Regions from separate parts of the Homo sapiens genome. Here regions 1, 2 and 4 are each linked to region 3. Evidence: promoter capture Hi-C in 16 types of primary human blood cells and fetal thymus (Javierre and others, 2016). All regions are on one chromosome and are shown on one strand. The core of a region is centred on a gene start or on the middle of the fragment in contact, and the rest is flanking DNA. Distances in the headings are between cores, read along the strand shown. Region 1 has its middle 2.9 kb from the start of SHQ1. Region 2 overlaps PPP4R2 (protein phosphatase 4 regulatory subunit 2). Region 3 holds the start of ARL6IP5 (ARF like GTPase 6 interacting protein 5). Region 4 holds the start of RYBP (RING1 and YY1 binding protein).

The links. Contacts are between HindIII fragments. The CHiCAGO score rates a contact against its expected background, and 5 or more counts as called.
Region 1: a contact is called between a fragment that was not itself captured here and the fragment with the promoter of ARL6IP5 in region 3, in 1 of 17 cell types (total CD8 T cells). The highest score is 7.9, in total CD8 T cells.
Region 2: a contact is called between a fragment that was not itself captured here and the fragment with the promoter of ARL6IP5 in region 3, in 1 of 17 cell types (activated CD4 T cells). The highest score is 5.4, in activated CD4 T cells.
Region 4: the fragment with the promoter of RYBP here is called in contact with the fragment with the promoter of ARL6IP5 in region 3 in 1 of 17 cell types (neutrophils); the score reaches 5.6 in neutrophils.

The regions. Positions count from the first base shown.
Region 1 is chr3:72,849,954-72,852,735 of GRCh38, forward strand. No RefSeq gene overlaps it. Among named protein-coding and RNA genes, the nearest start is that of SHQ1, 2.9 kb to the left of the region's middle. The HindIII fragment of the contact is 192 bases long and covers 1,223-1,414 here.
Region 2 is chr3:73,040,186-73,042,885 of GRCh38, forward strand. All of the region lies in intron 2 of PPP4R2 (protein phosphatase 4 regulatory subunit 2), which reads left to right. Among named protein-coding and RNA genes, the nearest start is that of EBLN2, 20 kb to the right of the region's middle. The HindIII fragment of the contact is 5,162 bases long and covers 1-2,700 here.
Region 3 is chr3:69,083,487-69,086,186 of GRCh38, forward strand. ARL6IP5 (ARF like GTPase 6 interacting protein 5) reads left to right here and starts at 1,451. Exons shown (of 3, transcript NM_006407.4): 1 at 1,451-1,737. The coding sequence starts at 1,562. RefSeq lists an enhancer at 1,222-1,531. The HindIII fragment of the contact is 15,418 bases long and covers 605-2,700 here.
Region 4 is chr3:72,445,219-72,447,934 of GRCh38, forward strand. It overlaps RYBP (RING1 and YY1 binding protein), which reads right to left and starts at 1,405. Exons shown (of 4, transcript NM_012234.7): 1 at 1,278-1,405. The coding sequence starts at 1,405. RefSeq lists silencers at 1,722-1,781, 1,842-2,251. The HindIII fragment of the contact is 10,688 bases long and covers 1-2,716 here.

The sequences.
Region 1 (2,782 bases), core at 69-2,568, 3.8 Mb after region 3:
ATGAATTGATGCCAACTTTGATTTAATAAAGCTCTCAAAAGGTCCCTTGAGATAGGCCTGTGACTAAACTATTCCAAATTAGCTTCTTTACAAAGAATCTTGGCCGGGAGCGGTGGCTCACACCTGTAATCCCACCACTTTGGGAGGCCGAGGGGGTGGATCACCTGAGGTCAGGAGTTCGAGACTAGCCTGGCCAAGATGGTGAAACTCCGTCTCTACTAAAAATACAAAAATTAGCCAGGCATGGTGGTGTGTGCCTATAATCCCAGCTACTCAGGAGGCTGAGGCAGGAGAATCCCTTGAACCCAGGAGGCGGAAGTTGCAGTAAGCCGAGATTGTGCCATTTCACTCCAGCCTGGGTGACAAGAGTGAAACTCCATCTCAAAAAAAAAAAAAAGAAATAATCTTTACATCTGCCATGGGACCTCATTCCTGTAGGTCACAAGCATTAATATTTTTAAATTATTAATGCCAGAGAATCAACTGAAACAAGCTATGCTATCCATGAGGAAATTCTAATTGAAAGCACTTTGCAAACTAGAGCTGTGCATTTCCTGGGTACTTTATTATGTGTCTGGCAACACACACACACACAGGACTGCAACACAGGAAAACAGACAACATGGTTCAGTGCTGCCGTCATTATAAGAAATATATACTGCATCTGCTAAATCACAAAATACGGATAGTTTCAAGTATATAACAAGGTTTTGTTGTTTTGGGTTTCTGTTGGTTTTTGTTTTCTTGCAGGCAATAGTTCTCTTATTTTTGCATTTCTATTAGTGGTAAATATAAGTTATAGATTCATTCTCACTTAAGAACATAAAGTTCCTTTTGGCTGCCATGCAACTTTGGTTCTTTCTCCTGCTTCCTCAAAGGCAGTCCTAGCTATCACTTCAGACCCTTTTCTATTTCTACATCCATTTCTATGGACCCTGTTGCTTTGTGTTTAGACCCACTTTATATGGGCACATTCTCACACTATGAAAGTAATTCTGCAACATGCTTTTTTTCCTACTTTGGTTCATTTTTGAGACATAGCTATATTGATTCATAGATCAAATTGAGTTTCTATTTCTGAATACAGACATTGCTTGAGAATAAAGACATTATTTTAATGTTTTAAATTAGCTCTGGTTTAGAGGGGAAAACAGGAATGCAATTTTTCATCATTTTTGAGCATTCAAATGTTGCAGTGTTTTTTATCTTTTCATTTTCTGAAAGCTTACTTTTGAATGGCCTTCCACTGTTTTAAAAATAGTTTTTCCTTCTGGCCTATAGAGAACATGAAATAAAATAATAAGATAAAGTTTTTTCCATGACCAACTTATGTAGGACAAGTGTGTAACCTATCATCTTTCATTATATTAAATTGGCCCCTCCTCTGGTCTAACAACCCTGATTGTGATCCATAAGCTTCCAAATTAAATGTTAAATTAAAAATGGTTTTTATAAACAATTCCAATGTCAGCTTTATTACCAAGTTCTATTGTTAGAAGTCTTTTAATGGTGAAATACTCCTTGTTTCCAGAAGGTGGCATGCATATAGGTGATTAAAACAATGTTATCTCAAAGAATGGAGCTTTAACCTATGTTGAAAAATAGCTTCCTGAATAAGTTGTTTATAGCGCTAGTTCATTCTCTGAGCCATTTTGGGGAGGTGGTGGAATCTTACACAGTATTTGCAAACTACGTCTTAACCACTGTTATTATTTTGGCATACATCTTTTCAGACTCCTATTCATAAAAGTATGGGAAGTATTTTCAACAAAAGAATGTCATAATCTATATTTGCTTTCTTCACTTAATATAGGATTACAGGCTGGGCACGGTCGCCCATGCCTGTAATCCCAGCACTTTGGGAGGCCTAGGCGGGTGGATCACTTGAGGTCAAGAATTTGAGACTGCTGTGGCCAACATGGGAAAACTTTGTTTCTACTAAAAATACAAAAAAATTAGCCAGGTGTGGTGGCACCACCTGTAATCCCAGCTACTCGGAAGGCTGTGAGGCAAAAGAATCCTTTGAACCTGGGAGGTGGAGGTTGCAGTGAGCTGAGATTGCACCATTGCACTCCAGCCTGGGTGACAGAGCAAGACTCCATATCTCTCTCTCTCTCTCTCTCTCTCTCTCTCTCTCTCTCTCTCTCTCTCTCTATATATATATATATATATATATATATATATATATATATAATATATAAAATACATATGTGGCATTACAATATTTCCATTTGACTACATTTTTGTCAAGAATAAGTTTATCCACAATTGTACTCTTTGTTTTTTTGTTGTTTTTTTTTTCAGAGACAGGGTCTTGTGCTGTTTCCCAGGTTGGAGTGCAGTGGCAGGATCATAGCTCACTGCAGCCTCAACCTCCTAGGCTCAAGCAATCCTCCCACCTCAGCCTCCCAAATAGCTAGGACTACAGGTATGTTTCACCACACGCAGCTAACTTTTTTTTTTTTTTTAGTAGAGACGGGGTCTTGCTATGTTGTGAAGGCTGGTCTCAAACTCCTGGCCTCAAGCACTCTTCCCACTTCAGCCTCCCAAAGCACTGGAATTATAAGAGTGAGCCACCACTCCTGGCCTAGTGTTAGAACTCTTAAAAACAGAATTGAACACAGTGATGATTCATTTTAAGAAAGGAAAAAAAAAACTAATACTAGGATCATGAAACTAGAGTAAAAATACCTAATGCTAGATGACGAGTTAGTGGGTGCAGCGCACCAGCATGGCACATGTATACATATGTAACTAACCTGCACAATATGCACATGTACCC
Region 2 (2,700 bases), core at 22-2,521, 4.0 Mb after region 3:
AATGAAGGAAATGTAAATTAAACTGTTTCTCTACTAGCATATTGACAGAATTTTTGAAAGGTTATCATACTCAAATGTAACATGTTGCTTTATATTACTGATGACACTACAAAGTATGGTACATGGTGTCTGGGGAGTTTCTGAAGGTTGAAACAAAAGTCTTGACGTATGTACTTCATACTTCGGACTCAATAATTTCACTTACAGAAATCTATCCTCAGGTGATAAATAGATGCCTACAGGGTTTATTATTAGGCTGTTAATCACATAACTACATAATTATTTTTAATTGTAATGAAGTAGATGTGACCTAATTTTTTTTTTTTTTTTTTTGGAGACAGTCTTGCTCTGTCACTCAGGCTGGAGTGCAGTGCAGTGGCATAACCTTGGCGCACTGCAACCTCTGCCTCCTGGGTTCAAGCGATTCTTCTGTCTCAGCCTGTCTGTAATTCCAGTAGCTGGAATTATAGGCGCTCACCACCATGCCTGGCTAATTTTTGTATTTTTAGTAGAGGTGGGATTTTACCATGTTGGCCGGGCTGGTCTTGAACTGCTGATCTCAGGTGATCTGCCTGCCTCAGCCCCCGAAAGTGCTTGCATTACAGGCGTGAGCCATCGCACCCAGCCCTAAATATTTTTTTAAACTGTGATTAATAAATTATGGCACAAATACGTGGTGCAGTTAAAAATCTTGCCCTCAAAGACTGTTTGTCCCATGCAAATACCCGTAGTGAGTAAGGAGGAGGGAAAAAGGAATATTAGGATGTCAAATTTGAAAAATATATTAAAATGTTACTTTAGTGATGATGGTTGACTGCAGATTATGGATACATACTTCTATGTCTTTATTATTTCTTATAATGGCTGTACTATTAATGTAATCAGAAAAAACACATTATTTAGTTTTTAAATCCTATTAACATTTTGGAGTAGTCTCAATATTTTTCAGTTTACTGACTAATCTGTCCTTTACCATATATCAGATTTTCATATATGTGTGGGTGTGCTTCTCCGCTCTCTTCTGTTCCACTGATCTATTTTAATGTTCAGTTAGTCGACAAGATGTAATATGATGTGGAATGATAATGTAAAAGAATCTCTTGTTTCGTGCCCCATTTATAGAGAGAGTAATTTGTGTTTTAAAATTAGTCCTTTTAAAAATGTCATAATTTTATGTAAGCAACTCAGTGTTTTCTTACTTTTGCAGATCTTTCACTTATTTAATTCAGTATTCAGATTAAATATACTTGTTTTGTTTGCCTCAGTCATATAATTAAGACTGAATTATTTGACATTTTAAGTCATCTGATTGAAATATCTGCCTTTTAAACATTAAGTGTATTTTAAGCCTGTCACCTTTAATGAATGATCATCTCCATTAGATTTTATTTATTCATTCTTCTCAGATTCCCGTTTGATGTTTATAAATGGTGCAGTATTTGCTATCCTTTGGAGTAGCTAATAGTAGTAGGACTCTCCTGAGCTTTGTTGTGCTCTTAGTGTTCCTCACACTTTGTGTGCAATGCAGATAGGCTGAGTAGAGAGTAATCTTAGTAGAACTGGAAATGTTAGGAACCAGTACGTTAAGGTGGTTGGCCGCTGGCCACTAAATTGTTGTAGCACCACTTGGGAAAAGAAAAGATGGATTTTCTGTCCTTAAGCCTCTGGAAAATACCTTTAGCCTTTAGAGAATTGTGAGAGAAACATGTTTGAATATGAACTTGTGAGTTCCTATGGAGAAAAAAGGTCAATGTAAAATCTAGCACCAGGATATATTTATTAGAGATATGAATTGTACTTTCCTACAGGAGAAACTGCAAAAATGGGAAAATGGAAGGGGAGAAGAAAAAGGAAGTGAAGGGAGGTGAAGCTACTTAGTTAATGGTGATTAATTTCAGTACATTATTGAGTTAATTTCAGTAAAGTAGATTTAAATTTTGAGTATGTATTTTATTGGAGGGGATTTTATGTGGAGAAATTTGTTCTGAAGTTGAAAATGTGTTTATGTCTTATGAGCATCTTTTTAGAATAATTTGATTTTCATATTGAAAGCCAAGGGTTTTTTTGTTCTCATTTCTACTCATCCAGTGAGTGTACATTCCTAAGAAATTGTTTTTGTTGCCAAGTTTTTAGTTGATTTGCGCATGGCCTGTTTTTTGTGCCTGAATATAATTTCTTTTTTTTTTTTTTTTTTTTTGAGATGGAGTCTCGCTGTGTCACCCAGGCTGGAGTGCGGTGCTGCAATCTTGGCTCACTGCAACCTCCGCCTCCTGGGTTCAAACAATTCTCCTGTCTCAGCCTCCCGAGTAGCTGGGAATACAGGTTTGTGCCACCACACCCAGCTAATTTTTGTATTTTTAGTAGAGACAGGATTTCACCATGTTGGCCAGGATGGTCTTGGTCTCTTGACCTTGTGATAAGCCCGCCTCGGCCTCCCAAAGTGCTGGGATTACATCCGTGAGCCACCGCGCCTGGCCCCTGAATTATATAACTTTTAGGGAAGCATTTTCTGTTTTTGTTTTTATCAAATAGTTGTCCTCCATCAAAAAGCTGTATCTTTCACATTTTATGAATGCCCTCCCCATATATATATGTGGAATAGTATCACTTGAATTGCATCGTATTGATCTAATTTAGAGTAACTGCTTGATTTATTTGAAAGTTAAGACTACAGTGTGTTCATAATTCATGTCAATTTAT
Region 3 (2,700 bases), core at 201-2,700:
TATACATTCCTTCACTTAGCCTCGTCTATATGGCAGATGTTCCATTATCCCCACTTTACACATGAAGACACCGAGGCTGGGAGAGATTAAGTAGTTTCTCCAAAGTCACCTGCCAGAGAGGAAGGAGCTGCGACTCTAATTTTGCTTTCTCTGACTTCACACCATCCCATTTTTCCAGAATCAAGAAAACATGAGCACTCAGGAATATTTTCACATTTTAAACTTTATTCAAAAAGCAGCACATAAGATATATCTTAGCACTAATTCCATGCAATCACCAAATTTTCCTAAACAACAGTAGTAGTAGTAATTTCTTAGAGTCGCTGTAAGCTCCTTAACTGTCTTCTGAATTAATAAGGAAAATTAAATTATGTTTTCTAGACTTTGCATTAGTATATTTCATTACTTTCCAAGTTTTCAAAAATTGGTGATCTGAGTAGAGTGAATTCACCTTGTCTAAGCCACTTAGGGGCTTAGAGACTCTGTTATCTTAGAAATCTTCACCTTAGAATTCTACCTATTACATTATACAATTAAACAAACTACTTTTTTTCTCATGCATTGTACCAATCAGCCCCTTAACTGAAAAAAGATGACCCTTGGAAGCTTAGAAGAGAATTGACAACGAATACTTCTTTTGCCAGGTCTTTGGGCTGGGATACAAAACATCACGTTATCTATGAATATATTGTGGTCCCTCAGTGAAAGCTGTCACCAAATATTGCAATAAAACTAAGAAAACTTTTGAAGTGGAATGCATATTTCTGCCCAGAAAATGCTGGATGCAGAACAACTAGTTCACTGCAGACAACTGTTTGCTTTAAAATGTAAGCAACATGCCCAGCTCAGGACTGAAGTGGCCAGAGTGCCTACTTTATCAGAATGGCATAGCAGTCCAACAATTTAGCCTAGAGAGAACAGAGGTGGAGAACAAAGAAGAGAAGTGAAAAAAACAGACCAGCCCTTCTGTTCTACATGACCTTCTTTCCCGTTTTGCCAATCTGATTTCACACATAGTGACTCATGGTGAAACAGAGAAAACATGGGAATTGCATTCAGATGTGTAGAGGTTAGTAAGACTTAGTTTTCAAAAGCAGCTCATTCTCCATTAACACTGTAGTCGCCTTCCATTTCATTTCACTTAGATTGGCATCTGCACAGCTGCCAAAATTTTTCTCTAAGTCAGAGAACACACTCCTAGGTAAACCTTCAAAAAAGGTATTTCGAAGGAGGCAGCTTCTCTGCTGCTAGAGAAGGCATTGCCACCTCCCTTCAGACAGGGGATTTCCGCTAGTTGCTTTCTGTCATTTCGTCTCTATTCTGCACTCAGTCCCTTGTTCTGTCTGGAGGTTCCTGTTTTCCTGTACCCAACCAAGAGCCAATGAAGAAGTAAAGAGGAGCAAACACGCCCGCCCACTCCCAATTTCCTTTGCTCTGCTGTCTGCCAACCGCAAAGCCGACCGAGACGGAGCCGCTGTCAACTCTCCAACTCAGCTCAGCTGATCGGTTGCCGCCGCCGCCGCCGCCAGATTCTGGAGGCGAAGAACGCAAAGCTGAGAACATGGACGTTAATATCGCCCCACTCCGCGCCTGGGACGATTTCTTCCCGGGTTCCGATCGCTTTGCCCGGCCGGACTTCAGGGACATTTCCAAATGGAACAACCGCGTAGTGAGCAACCTGCTCTATTACCAGACCAACTACCTGGTGGTGGCTGCCATGATGATTTCCATTGTGGGGTAAGTGGGGTCCCCCTACCCGGGACACCGATCCGGGGCGAGCACGGAGGGGCCTCGGGGTGCAAGATCCCGGGATGTAGAGACGCTCTCTGACCACGCTCAGCGCCTGCCCTGGCAATTCTGCAAGCGGCCAAGCCAGTGGAAACTTGTTTGCAGGGCGAGGCCGCAGTAACCTGGGGCCCCATTTTCTGCACCAAGGGCTGAGACTTGAGGGGGGCCCTAGGGGAAAGAGGACGGGGAAAATTTGCCAGCCGCAGGGAAGAAAAATGAGAGTTCCCCCACCCCCCTGCCCCCGCCCGCGTGCCAGGATCGGGCTCTTGCTGGAAAGATATTTGTAGCGCCCTCGTCTTTTAAAAATAAGAAGAAAAAGGAAAGTGGTGTAACCCTACCCTGGAGCTGGCTGGGGCGGCAGGGTGTGGACCCGGGCTAGTGTAAAAAGGGCAACCAAGTGGCGACGCACTTTGCTGCTTTCTCTGCCTAATGCCTGCCACACTGTACAGTAAAGCTGAGCTTGGGATCAAAAGGGGGGGTGTCTCCTGGTGGCGCATCTCCCATTGTGGGGTAAAGGCTGCCATGACTGTGGGAAGATGGCCTTCTGGCATTTTCTTCCAGCAGTGGCCAGGCGTGGTCACTTTCTCTGTCTTCGCTTCCTAGCCTGAGGTTTCAATGTATCAGAAGGCCTTTTCAATACCTGATACTTAACAAAGTATCCTGTGTTGAGACTGCATGTACACCTGCTTTCCTAGAAACCACCTTTCCTTCTAGTTCACCCTTTAAGAAATGCTTCTCTCGCTTATGCAGGATGGGTGGTGATATTCTCAATCTTGCTGATTATCTCCTACACATCTTTAAAGAAAAAGCCACCCTCAGACTTTATAAAGGACTCACTTGCACTTAAATGTCTGACATTTCTATTTCAGGGCAGACGTAGAGGGAAGAAGCAGCAAGCTGGCTTGGGAGAAA
Region 4 (2,716 bases), core at 155-2,654, 3.4 Mb after region 3:
TATATTCCATGATAATACAAAACACCGACAAAAATTTCTTAAAACAACGTATGGAGTAATATTTTTAGTTTTTGATTATTTTTATTCAAAGGTATCATCATTTAAAGAGTGCAATTCACAGAAACAATAATTAGGCCAATTAATCTCAGAGTTAGATTATTTTAGGTTGCCCAATAATCCTATTTAATCCCAAGTATAAATAAACCAATGAAACCTTAACATGACATATTCATCTAATCAAAGAACAATATCCAGTTGGAACTGTGAAGTACTACTACACAGTCACACTGAAATGTCACCAATTCAAAAATAAGTACCTGATAAAATGAGACTTTTGGCAATCAACTGTAATGTTCTAAAGGATCCACCAAAAACTCATTCTTGTCTCACACACACACCCAATGCCTGTTCATTAAATGACACCAAGAACAGTTTAACTTCAAACTCTAACGCCAATGAAACAAATTCAGACATAAATTAAAAGATGACCAAAAGACTACATGAGTCTTGACATTTTATCCAAGTATTTATGAATGTTAAATCTAAAGTAGTTAACTCGTTTTAACATCACATGCAGTTTACGACCTTCATCAAAATGAAAAGGAATTCTTTCAACATTCTTTTCATCATCACAGAGCTTTAAACACAAACTTCCACAGTCACTGCTCATTTCACCATTTTACAAAATCGTCCCCCATCACCACCCCACATAAGCTAGTCAAAGAAAAAAAAAACTGACAGCTCAGTCTCCCACAAAATGCACTTACTTTATCAAATACCGACATTTATTTTCAAGTGCAAGAAAGTAACAGACATTTGCAGCTCAAGACAGGAAAAGCACAGCCAGCCTTACTACCCCCACTAAATTTCTCAGACAAGAGAAAAGTAACTCGGGACAGGCAAATTAAAACCATTCTACACATGGCAAAAATATAAAACATCTATGTCCTACAATCCATAGCGATAGTACTGCTTCCTCTCTTCCCCAGCCAATACCAATAAGCCAATAGACACAAGTGTCAAATAAATCCAGTGTCCGTTTGAAATAAAATGAAAACCTGGAAAAATTCCCTCCCATAAATCATTTAGCGAACACAAGGCTTTTCACCCAACACTTAATACACTCAACCCAAAAACACACACAACCCACCCGCAAATACAAAAAAAGCCGTAATCAACAAGTTGGAAAAAGGGCAGAAAGTAAGGCTCACTACCCTCTCACTTAAAAAAAAAAAAAAAAAGTCCTTTAACAAAAGGTAACACAGATCTTCAAGTACCTGGTGGAGGTGCCTTTCCTCACATCGCAGATGCTGCATTTAAAGGCTTCAGCACTGTTTCTGAAGGTGCAGACGCTACAATCCCAAAACCCTTCGTCTGCGGCAGGTTTCGCTTGTCTTTTTGGCCTTCCGAGGAGTGGAGAGTGGGGGAAAAGGGAGGGAAGAGGCAGGGAGCAGGAAAACGGGGGAGAGACAGCAAAACACAGACGCGGGTGAGCCGTCGTAATTTCGCAGGAATCCAGTGCTGGAAACTTCGCTCGGGAGACCACCCACCCACCCTTTCCGGGGACTGGAAGAGAGAGCGAGGAAGGGAACCGGGCGCCCCCACTGGCACCCTGCAAGCCCCGGGCCCGGGCCGGATAGCCTCGCACACCAGGCGGTGGCGGCGGCGCCCCGGGAAGGGCCGCGGCGGGCGCAGGAAGCGGGCGGACTTGTGGACTTGAGCGTGGGGCTGGGGGGGCCGGGAGGGGAGCCGCGGGCCGGATCTGGAGGGGGCGCGCAGGGGCAGCCCGAGGCCGGCGACGGGGAGTGGGCCGGCTCCTTCCCTCTCCACTCCCAAGCTCGCGCCCTCCCTCCCTCCCCACCTGGTTAAATCCATCACAGTCTCCGGACGAGACTAGTCCCCGCCAGCGCCGCCTCCGCCGAGTGACTGACGAGGGGCGGGGCCTGGCGCCGCGCGTCACGCGCCGTGCGGCCAATGGGAGGGCGGCGGCCGGCGCCGCGAGGGCGGAGGCGGGGCGCGGGGGAAGGCGGGGCGTGGCGGACGTGGGCCGGGCGGTCGGTGTGCGTGCCCGGGAGTGTGTGCGCGCTGGGGGCGCGCGTGCCTGTCGGTGGCCCCGCGGCCCGGCGCGGCGGAGCGTGCAAGCCCGGCGGGGCGCACGTGGCCGCGCCCGGGAGCTGGCAACTGGCTTCGGGCCCCGCACGGCGCCCCGTGAGGCTGTTGCCGGGACCCCGGCCCCGAAGCCGCCCCGGGGAAGTAGTTCCACGCAGTTTGCGCGCGCCGCGGGAGCTTGCAACAGCCTCACCGCTCGCAGCGCCTCGAGGCTTGCAGTGCCCAGGGGCCGACAAGGTCCACCTTTGGACCGCGTTCCCCCGCGCCCCTCTGTTCCTCTGCCATGCGGAGCTTTGTATTTGCCTCTTCTGAAGTCCCTGCGTCCGGCCGAGACGCTGGCCCGAAGCCCCACTCCCTGTCAGGCCCCTGTCGCGGGAGGGAACAGTAGAGAAAGGGCGTGGCATAACTAAATGCCCCCAGGCCAGACTCTGAGCTTCTGCTGGCGGACTCCTCCTGGGATCCTCCTCTCCCCTAGAGTCTAAATAGGGCGTTTCCTTAGGGAAGTTGCTATTCAAATTCTGGCGACCACATGCCCGCATTAAAACCTCGTGCCTCAGCTCCTTCATCTCCAAAATGGGGCTCATCCTCCCAGGGTTGTTTTGAATAT